2 separate regions of the Homo sapiens genome follow, and region 2 is linked to region 1. Evidence: promoter capture Hi-C in human tissues and cell types (Jung and others, 2019). All regions are on one chromosome and are shown on one strand. The core of a region is centred on a gene start or on the middle of the fragment in contact, and the rest is flanking DNA. Distances in the headings are between cores, read along the strand shown.

Region 1 (4,939 bases), core at 1,476-3,975:
TACATAAGGTAACTTTACTCACTTTTAGATTTTAATAATTTCATATTTGTTTAATGTGTATTAGAACGGGGTTCCCAACCCCTGGGCCACAGACCAGTACTGTTGTAGCCTGTTAGGAGGTAAGCTGCAGGTGGGCAGGACGAGTGAGCATTTTCACCTGAGCTCCGCCTCCTGTCAGATCAGCAGTACCATTAGATTCTCATAGGAGTGCAAACCCTATTGTGAACTGCACATTCGAGGGATCCAGATTGCACATTCCTTATGAGAGTTTAATGCCTGATGATCTGTCACTGTCTCCAGTCACACCCAGAGGAGACCATCTAGTTGCAGGAAAACAAGCTCAGGGCTCCCACTGATTGTACATTATGGTGAATGTATAGTAACAAGAGGAATAAAGTACACAATAAATGTAATGCACTTGAATCATCCCAAAACAATCCCCTGCCACCCGTCCATGGAAAAATTGTCTTCCACAAAACCGGCCCCTGGTGCCAAAAAGATTGGAGACCGTTGTATTAGAATATACATATAAGTATCGTATCAAATTCACAGTTTCATGAGTACTGCTTTGGATGAAGCTCCATTTTTTTAAAATGATAAGTTAAAGATAGTGTGCCAATTTAAAGGAAATTTGCCAAATTACAGAAATAATTAAACGAATAGGTAGTTCCTACATATGGCAGAAATCATGAAGATGCTGAAGAAACACAATGGCAACTTTGGTGAAGGGCACCCTCTAAAATTTAGGATTTGAATCCAAAGTATCAGTGTTTTTTTCTCCCAGATATGTTTACAGTGACTTAATCCTTCTTTTTCAATTCAGGGACAGACTTTCAAAATTAGTATTTCTGCAAATTTTTGAATCATTGTTTTCTAACTTAGTTTCTTGACACCTAGTTCTCTTGTGAAAATGTGTCTTACAGATCAAGAATATTTTGTTCCTCTATTTTTCTAGGGTATAAGTGGACATGTGGTGGTAAGAAGAGGAAGGAGAGTGAGTGTGTGTTGTGTGTGTATGAGAGAGAGAGCGAGGGATGGATGGCTGGATGGTCAGAGGGGCTGATGAACAGGTGACTAGATTACTTGGATACCTGGGTAGAGAACAATATTAATAATTGTAGGGCCTCACTTTCCTACATACTCATCTTCTCAGACTCTAAGGAAGTCCAGAGGTCTGTTACAACTCAGAATTGTTTGGGAAATACTGCTTTAGGCTCTTTCACTAGTAACGTGGATTGCTCTGGGCCAATTAAAATGAGCTCCACATAAAGATATTTAGCTATCCTGACCTCTCTGAGCAGGCTCAGAGAAATTCGAATAGGCAAATTACCTCTTGCTACAAATAACTGCTTACTGTTTTATCAGGAATGTATATAAACTTCAGTTATAGAGGCAGCTGCCCTGAACAAGAGTAGCCGCTTAAATTATATTACGGGAAGTTAAAAATACTGTGATGCAGCTGTAATGTTATGTTTAAATGTCTGTCCTGTATAATTTTGTAGAATGGAAGCTTCTTGCCTAGAGCTGGCCTTGGAAGGGGAACGTCTATGTAAATCAGGAGACTGCCGCGCTGGCGTGTCATTCTTTGAAGCTGCAGTTCAAGTTGGAACTGAAGACCTAAAAACACTTAGCGCTATTTACAGCCAGTTGGGCAATGCTTATTTCTATTTGCATGATTATGCCAAAGCATTAGAATATCACCATCATGATTTAACCCTTGCAAGGTAATTAATTTAAGCTTTTAAATATTCTTCCTTCTGAAATTAGCTATTACTTTAAAAAATATTTCTATTCAATTAACAAAAACTAACTTAATACATTTAATGAGTTCTACTTCAGTAACATCGCTTTTCAAAACTAACCTTTAGGCTGAACACAGTTTAATTGAATGAATAGTAGTGAATTGACCCTAGAGTTTAATTAAATGGATGAAAACTAATTACATTCAAATCCAGAAATGTAAGTTTTAAATATTTATTTAAAGTAGGTTTCAAAGCCAATGGGTTTTTCTTACCTTAAGCATGTCAGTTTGTCCTCTTGGAAAACTGTACTCTGGCTACTTTATATTTTAACACCATTTGTATTTTAATACCATTTGGTTTTTTGTTTTTTGTTTTTTGTTTTTTTCAGGACTATTGGAGACCAGCTGGGGGAAGCGAAAGCTAGTGGTAATCTGGGAAACACCTTAAAAGTTCTTGGGAATTTTGACGAAGCCATAGTTTGTTGTCAGCGACACCTAGATATTTCCAGAGAGCTTAATGACAAGGTAATACCGCAGCATTAGATGGTAGGCCTAATATTTTCATTCAAAGGGCTTTGCATTTTAATACTATTTAATTATTCTATAGTTTATTTTAAAATTAATACCAAAAAAGAAAACATTTATAGACTAATAGAAGTAAAAGAAAAAAAATTTAATGGAGAAAAAGAAGGAAATAGTAAGAGGTCTTTCATAAGTAATTATTTGATTGGTTCTGTATGGAGAGCCAATATAAAAATTTTTTTCCCTTGTCCGTAATACTAAGGATATTACAAATATATATGATAAACCTGACCTCTGTTTTCAAAATGTAAACTTTGCTGATGTCTTCATTTAGGTGGGAGAAGCAAGAGCACTTTACAATCTTGGGAATGTGTATCATGCCAAAGGGAAAAGTTTTGGTTGCCCTGGTCCCCAGGATGTAGGAGAATTTCCAGAAGAAGTGAGAGATGCTCTGCAGGCAGCCGTGGATTTTTATGAGTGAGTAGGGGCTGATATGGGCAGTCATGTAGGCCCATCTAAGCCGTGGATCTGCTGTACGTTCTTTATTCAGTAGTAAGTTTTTAAGTTTGGCAAAGATTTTAAAGTTATGAACTAGCAAAATCATCAATTCAGTTGCTTAAATGTTACAGTGTTATATTAGTAGTAATCTGCAGCTTTCATTTAAGTTGCAGACCAGTGCCACTTAGTGGCAAAAGCAAGAAATGTCAATGGTTGGTCTGTTATTTAGAGTAATTTAGTCTTTTACCAATAGAATTTCATAGAACTACTTAACTATAGGGGTTCCAAGATTAACTCTGTGCTTGACCCTGGGCAGAAACCTATCTGAATAGTTTAATAAAGTGTTCCCAGCTATTTCCTATAATTGCTCTTCATCATAGATGTCATCCTTAAAATGTTGCACATTATGGCTGTAAGCTTCCCTACATTTTTTTCTGATAAAAAGAATTAGATATGTAAATCACATACATAAAATTGTTCTGCAAACTTATTTTTTCATCACTTTTTGCGATCCCTTAGGGAAAACCTATCATTAGTGACTGCTTTGGGTGACCGAGCGGCACAAGGACGTGCCTTTGGAAATCTTGGAAACACACATTACCTCCTTGGCAACTTCAGGGATGCAGTTATAGCTCATGAGCAGGTACAGTGGAAAGCCTTGGAGCCAGATCATTTCCTCCATCAAAGTTCTGAACAGTGATTAGATCATTCTTCAGTTTTATTTTATCTACATCTAATTAAAATTGTTTGTTTCAGCGTCTCCTTATTGCAAAAGAATTTGGAGATAAAGCAGCTGAAAGAAGAGCATATAGCAACCTTGGAAATGCATATATATTTCTTGGTGAATTTGAAACTGCCTCGGAATACTACAAGTTAGTCTAATATTTCTGTAGATAAATGTAAAATGAATACTCAGTCCCATTAATTCATAGGCTTTAGGTTTAAAATCTGATTGTAGCAGAACTTTTGGCATCTAAGCCTCAATTTCCTTATCTGTAACAGAATATATCAATACTTCATTTTGGGGAATGCTGTGAGGATTGAATGAAATAATATACTAAACACAGTATCTGGTACACAGTGCTCAATAAATATTATTGTACATAAGATTTAATAGCAGCAGTATGACCCCTTTATAATATTGGTTTTTATCTTTAAAAGTAATTGTTTTTAAATGAAGTTTTCAACCTTTAATATCTTTTAAACCTGTTTAGCATATGTGGTGTATATTGTGTATATGCTTTATTTCACTCAGTTATGGGTTAGAAGAGAGGCCAAAAGAAAGCCTTGTAACAAAAATATTTATAGTCTATACCAGTGATCACTGAATTTTTTTCTCTACCTTCCCACCCTCTTATTGAGCAGTTCTCCCTTTACCCTCTTTCTGCCTATATTTGACTGTCACTGTAAGCTGAGTCCCCCATTCACTTACCTGAAGCATTTACAATCCCAGCTTCTTCTGTGGCAGGATCTCTCTTATCAGTAGATTTGAGACATAGATGATAGAAAGTTTAGACAGCTTCAAGTTGCCTGATCTGTGCTTTCTAGATTGAGTTTTCCCTAGTTAGTGGGGATTGAAGCCTCTTACAGATTTTGGGTAGAAGGCAGTTTGACTAAACCGAAGACACAGTGATTGATTTGTATTTTGTTAAAGAAGCCAATATGAGACAGTTCTGGATAATTTGTCATCTTCATAAAAAAGGTAAAATTGTTTTAGGCCTATCTAAAAAAATTAAATAGCATTCCACTTTGCTTTAAACATCAACTAATGGTTAATATTTGTTGGTTAGGTTAGTTAGATATGAAATAGCCTCCCAAATAAAATATATCACTGTGTACTATGTGAAGGAGTATATATTTTGATTTTAAATATAAAAATTTCCTATATTTAAAGCCAAGGGATATAGAGAAGTCTTAATTATTAAATGGTGTATCTGTGTTAAATACTGAAAGGTTCTATTATAAAATGGATAGTGGCTATTTGACTAAAGAAGCATGAATATAAAGTAATGAAACTTAGTTTTTTTCCTCCCAATAAGCAGGCTAGAACTCAGAACTTTATATATATTCCAAGTCGTTGGTTAGAAATATTTTTAGAACTCTTCTTTAGATTTTTTTTTTTTTTTTTTTTTTAAATACGGAGTTTTGCTCTTGTCGCCCAGGCTGGAGTGCAATGGC
Region 2 (4,939 bases), core at 704-3,203, 140 kb after region 1:
AAATCAGTCAATGTTAAGCTTAGCAGCTCTTACAAGAATGCAATCAGTAGCAAAAGAAAGCTTAAATACAGGTAATCTGATTTTTCAGCTTACTGATCTACTAAGGAAAACTGCACATCTTTTCATAACTAAAGCGTTTCTGAAACTGCAGCATACATTAAGCATTTCATATGCCGCCCATTAAATAACTAATATATTCTATTTCACAAACAGGAAAAGAGGTTGAACACCATTATGTAAGTAGTAACATAGGATAGTACCCCTGTTCTCTTATGACACATTCTTAACAGTACTGGTTTTTAAGGCGAGGGAGAAAAGAACCAGGAAGTGGACCAGTGGGAGATAAACACAGGTTAAAATCCCGTCCAAAAAAAAAAAAAAATTTACATCTTCATAATGGCATCCAAATTCAAGTGTTTGGGTTTTGGCTTTTTTACCTAACAATATACTGTTGTGACTTGACTTTTCCATTACCGTGTAATAATGTTTCTTTCCTATTGGAAGCAATCTCTCCTAATCTCCCAAACCTAAAGTAGAATTATTCATTTCATCTTCTTCCTAAATGAGACCTCGACAATATGCCATATAAAGGAAAATGGGCTCTTAGGCGTTTCTCCTTCTTAGTAAAATGCCAATGCAACATATGCCAACACTGGAGACAAAAAAATTCTACTTGAATTTACTGTGAAAAAAAGATTTATAGCATTTTTTAAACCTACATGTTCATTTCTGTGCCATTAACTTTTTGAGGCATTCTACAGAGTCTCCAACAAAGAGAGAAATAAGTATTAGGATCACAACCTACGAATCTGGGTGGAACAAAGACTTCTCCTTTCATTATGCAGAGAAAACCAAGTTGCCAAAAAAAAAAAACGGTCCCCTCAGATACCATGCACGGTTACTAACTGCACGTCTGGGTACAGAGAAGGAAAAATCATCTGGTCAAAAGCCCAAATGCCGCCCCGGCCTACCCTCGCCCCCCGCCCCCGCCCCCTTTGCCCATGGCCTCGCCCCAGAGCTAGAGTTCCAATATTTTTCTCCCCAATAAAGGGAAGCGGTTTAACCCTTTGAGTTCCACAACCTTGCGTTCTTCTACGCAGGCGCCCCTCCAGCGCAATCCCAGTTCTAAATCGAGTCGCTGCCCCTTTCCGCGACCACACCCAGATCCCCAAAGGCCTGCTCCCATCCCGACCATTGATGTGAGAAAGGCCAAAACCGGCCCCAGCGGGGCTCCCAGCCCCGCCGCTCCCTCTCTTCCTCCGGGCCAAGGCGTGCCCAGAAAGGGACGCGAGCGCGCCCCTCAGTTCTCGCACGGGCTCGACCAAGGGGCGAGGAAGGAAGAATCGGCGCAGCGGCGAGATGGGCACGAACCTCGCGCTCACTTGCTGCTCAGTGCCAGGGCGAGGGGCGTCGCTCTGCCCCCAGAATCCAACTGGTAATGTGGGAAAGGTGTGGTCCAGGACCGGTGACCTCGAACCGGGGCCCAGCAGTTCGCAGATCCTCACCCCGCGATGCTGGGGCCTCACCCACGACCCCAGCCCCCTCCCAGTCGGCACCCAAGCCCACTAAAGACCCCTCTCCGGGGCCGCAAACACAGTCCTCGGGGCCGCCCGGTCGGAGCCGTGTCAGGTGGTGACAGGAGGCGACGGGTGACCATGGCAACCCGAGGTGTGCAGCGGACCGACCCAGCCTCCGACTCCCGGAGTCACCCACCTGAGGGCTCCAGGGCAAGCCCGGAGGAGCGGCGGAGGAGAACGCGGCTGGGAGGCCGGCGGCCAGGGCCCCGAAGCGGCCGGCTCCGGGCTGCGGCAGGAGCACGACGGCGGCGGTCTGGGTTTGGCGTCGGTCCTCCCTCCTACCGCCCGCGCGTCAATCCATCAGTTCGTCAATCCGTCCTTCTCACGTCCGCCCCTCCCGGCCCAGCGACTCCTCAGCTCAGCCTCTTGCAGACTGCGGTTGTCAAGTGCCGGGGAGCCGAGCTCTACCCGCGAGCGGCAGCCAATCGCCGCGCTTCCCCGAGGCGCCTCAGGACCCCGCCGCGCGGGGCGGCCAGGCAGGTGCCTGAGCCGAAGGGCGAGTCGGCGGGGCGGGGCGGGGCGGGGAGGGGCGTGGAGGGGCGGGCCCAAAGCTGGGGCGGGGAGGGGCGGGGCGGACCAAAGCCTGGGCGGGGCGGACCAAAGCCTGGGCGGGGCGGGCGGGGGTCGGGCTTGGAGGGACCGGCTAGGGGCCCGGGGGAGTAGCAGAACGGGTGCGGCAATAGCGTGAGACTGGTGGCAGGGACGTAGACCCTTAGCTGGCCGGTGACCCCATGTCCCAAAATAGCACGAACAGGATTGTCGCCTGCAAATGGAGAAGACTGCGCATTAGGATTGACTCTTCATACTCCTCCCCGATAATTAATAAAGGTTAATGAAATTAATGTTGCCTTCTACCCTTCTTTCGCTGCTTTCCTAGGTCCCACTTCGTCCCAGAAAACTCCAGTAGTTTGTTTGTCCCCTTCCTGGTTTCTCATTTTGCAAAGCTGATCTGCCTTGAAAGCATTTTTCAGTTACTTAACATTTAATATGTTCAGGTTTTGTCTACTCCTGTTGGTTGTAAGCCCCTTATTCCACAAATATACGTGATGTTCAACCGAGCTTAATTAAGCATCCAGGAAGTATAACCATAAGGAAGAATACAATTACACAAACCTGTAAGAACATCATTCTCGGCCAGGCGCGGTGGCTCACGCCTGCAATTCCAGCACTTTAGGAGGCCGAGGCGGGCGGATCACCTGAGGTCAGGAGTTTGAGACCAGCCTGGCCAACATGGTGAAACCCCGTCTCTACTAAAAATACAAAAATTAGCCGGGTGTGCTGGCAAGCCTCCTGTAATCACAGCTACTTGGTAGGCTGAGGCAGGAGAATCGCTTCAACCTGGGAGACGGAGGTTGCAGTGAGCCGAGATCATGCCACTGCACTCCGGCCTGGGTGACAGAGCGAGAGACTCCGTCTCACAGAAAAAAGAACATCATCCTCACAGAGGCGAAAGTCCAGAGTGAGCTGGACCTCCCAAAAGGGGAAAATGGGGTAACAGTCTGGTAAAGAGAATAAACATCAAAAATATTTCTGGCACTCCCATGCTTATTGCAGTACTATTCACAATAGCCAAAATATAGAATCAACCTATGTCAATCAACAGACAAATGGATAAAGAAAATGTGGTACATATACACAATGCAATCTTTTTTTTTTTTTTTTTTTTTTGAGACGGAGTCTCGCTCTGTCGCCCAGGCTGGAGTGCAGTGGCGCCATCTCGACTCACTGCAAACTCCGCCTCCCGGGTTCACGCCATTCTCCTGCCTCAGCCTCCCGCGTAGCTGGGACTACAGGCGCCCGCCACCAGGTCCGGCTAATTTTTTTTTTTTTTTTTGTATTTTTATTAGAAACGGGGTTTCACCGTGTTAGCCAGGATGGTCTTGATCTCCTGACCTCGTGATCCACCCGCCTCGGCCTCCCAAAGTGCTGGGATTACAGGCGTGAGCCACCGCGCCCGGCCACACAATACAATCTTATTCACCCATTAAGAAAGAATGAAATCCTGTCATTTGCAGCAACATGGATGGGACGGGAGGACATTATGTTAAGTGAAACAAGACAAGCACAAAAAGACAAATATTGCACGTTCTCACACATATGTGGGAACTAAAAGAATTGATCTCGTGGAGGTAGTGAATAGAATGGTGGTTACCAGAGGCTAGAAAGTGTAGTGGAGGGCAAAGGGGGGATAAAGAGGTTAATGGGTACAAAAATACAGTTATGTAGCAGGAATAAATTCTAGTGCTCAATAGCATAATTGGGTGACTATAGTTAACAATAATCTATTCTATATTTCCAAACAGCTAGAAGAGAAGATTCAGAATGTTCCCAACACAAAGAAATAGTAAATGGCAGGCCAAGCGTGGTGGCTTATGCCTGTAATCTCAGCACTTTGGGAGGCCGAGGCGGGCAGATCACGAGGTCAAGAGGTCAAGAGATCGAGACCATCCTGGCCAACATGGTGAAACCCTGTCTCTACTAAAAATACAAAAATTAGCCGAGTGTGGTGGTGTGCGCCTGTAGTCCCAGCTACTCGGGAGTCTGAGGCAGGAGAATCACTTGAACCCGGGAGGCGGAGGTTGCAGTGAGCCGAGATTGGGCCACTGCACTCCAGCCTGGTGACAGAGCGAGACCGCGTCTCAAAAAAAAAGAAAAGAAATAATAAATGGGTGGGCACAGTGGCTCATGCCTGAAATCCCAGCACTTTGGGAGGCTTAGGCCAGAGGCTCACATGAGGCCATGAGTTAGAGACTAGCCTAGGCAACATAGTGAGACTCCCTCTCTACAAAAACAAGAATAAAAAATTAGACACGGTGAGACACACCTGCAGTCCTAGCTACTTGAGAGGCTGAAGTGAGAAGATAGTTTGAGCTCAAAGTCCGAGGCTACCATGAGCTATAATCACACTACTGCACTCCAGCCTGGGTGACTGAGTAAGACCCTGTGTCTTAATAATAATAATGCATTTCTAAGGTGATGGATATCCCAATTACCCAGATTTGATCATTACACATTGTATTTACTCCAGAAATATCTACAACTATTATGTAACTATAAAAATTAAAAATAAACAAAATTTAAACCATATTTCTGGGAATACAAAATCTTGTCCAGTTCAAGATAAAAGAAGCGAGAGCTTGAAGATACACATTTCTTTTTTTTCTTTTCTTTTCTTTTTTTCCTTTTTTTTTTTTTTTTTTTGAGATGGGGTCTCACTGTGTCGCCCAGGCTGGAGTGCAGTGGTGCGATCTTGGCACTCTGAACCTCCTCCTCCTGGGTTCAAGCGACTCTCCTGCATCAGCCCCCAGAGTAGCTGGGACTACAGCATACACCACCATGCCCAGCTAGTTTTTGTATTTTTA

What was found. Contacts are between HindIII fragments. The study calls those that stand out against the background at their distance.
Region 2: the fragment with the promoter of WDR47 here is called in contact with a fragment that was not itself captured in region 1 in 1 of the 25 tissues and cell types used here (hippocampus).

The regions. Positions count from the first base shown.
Region 1 is chr1:108,895,362-108,900,300 of GRCh38, forward strand. GPSM2 (G protein signaling modulator 2) reads left to right here. Exons shown (of 15, transcript NM_013296.5): 3 at 1,503-1,724; 4 at 2,131-2,266; 5 at 2,598-2,740; 6 at 3,281-3,404; 7 at 3,518-3,633. Among named protein-coding and RNA genes, the nearest start is that of GPSM2, 21 kb to the left of the region's middle. The HindIII fragment of the contact is 6,291 bases long and covers 1-4,939 here.
Region 2 is chr1:109,040,149-109,045,087 of GRCh38, forward strand. It overlaps WDR47 (WD repeat domain 47), which reads right to left and starts at 1,954. Exons shown (of 15, transcript NM_001142551.2): 1 at 1,714-1,954. RefSeq lists a silencer at 1,602-2,151. The HindIII fragment of the contact is 14,404 bases long and covers 1-4,939 here.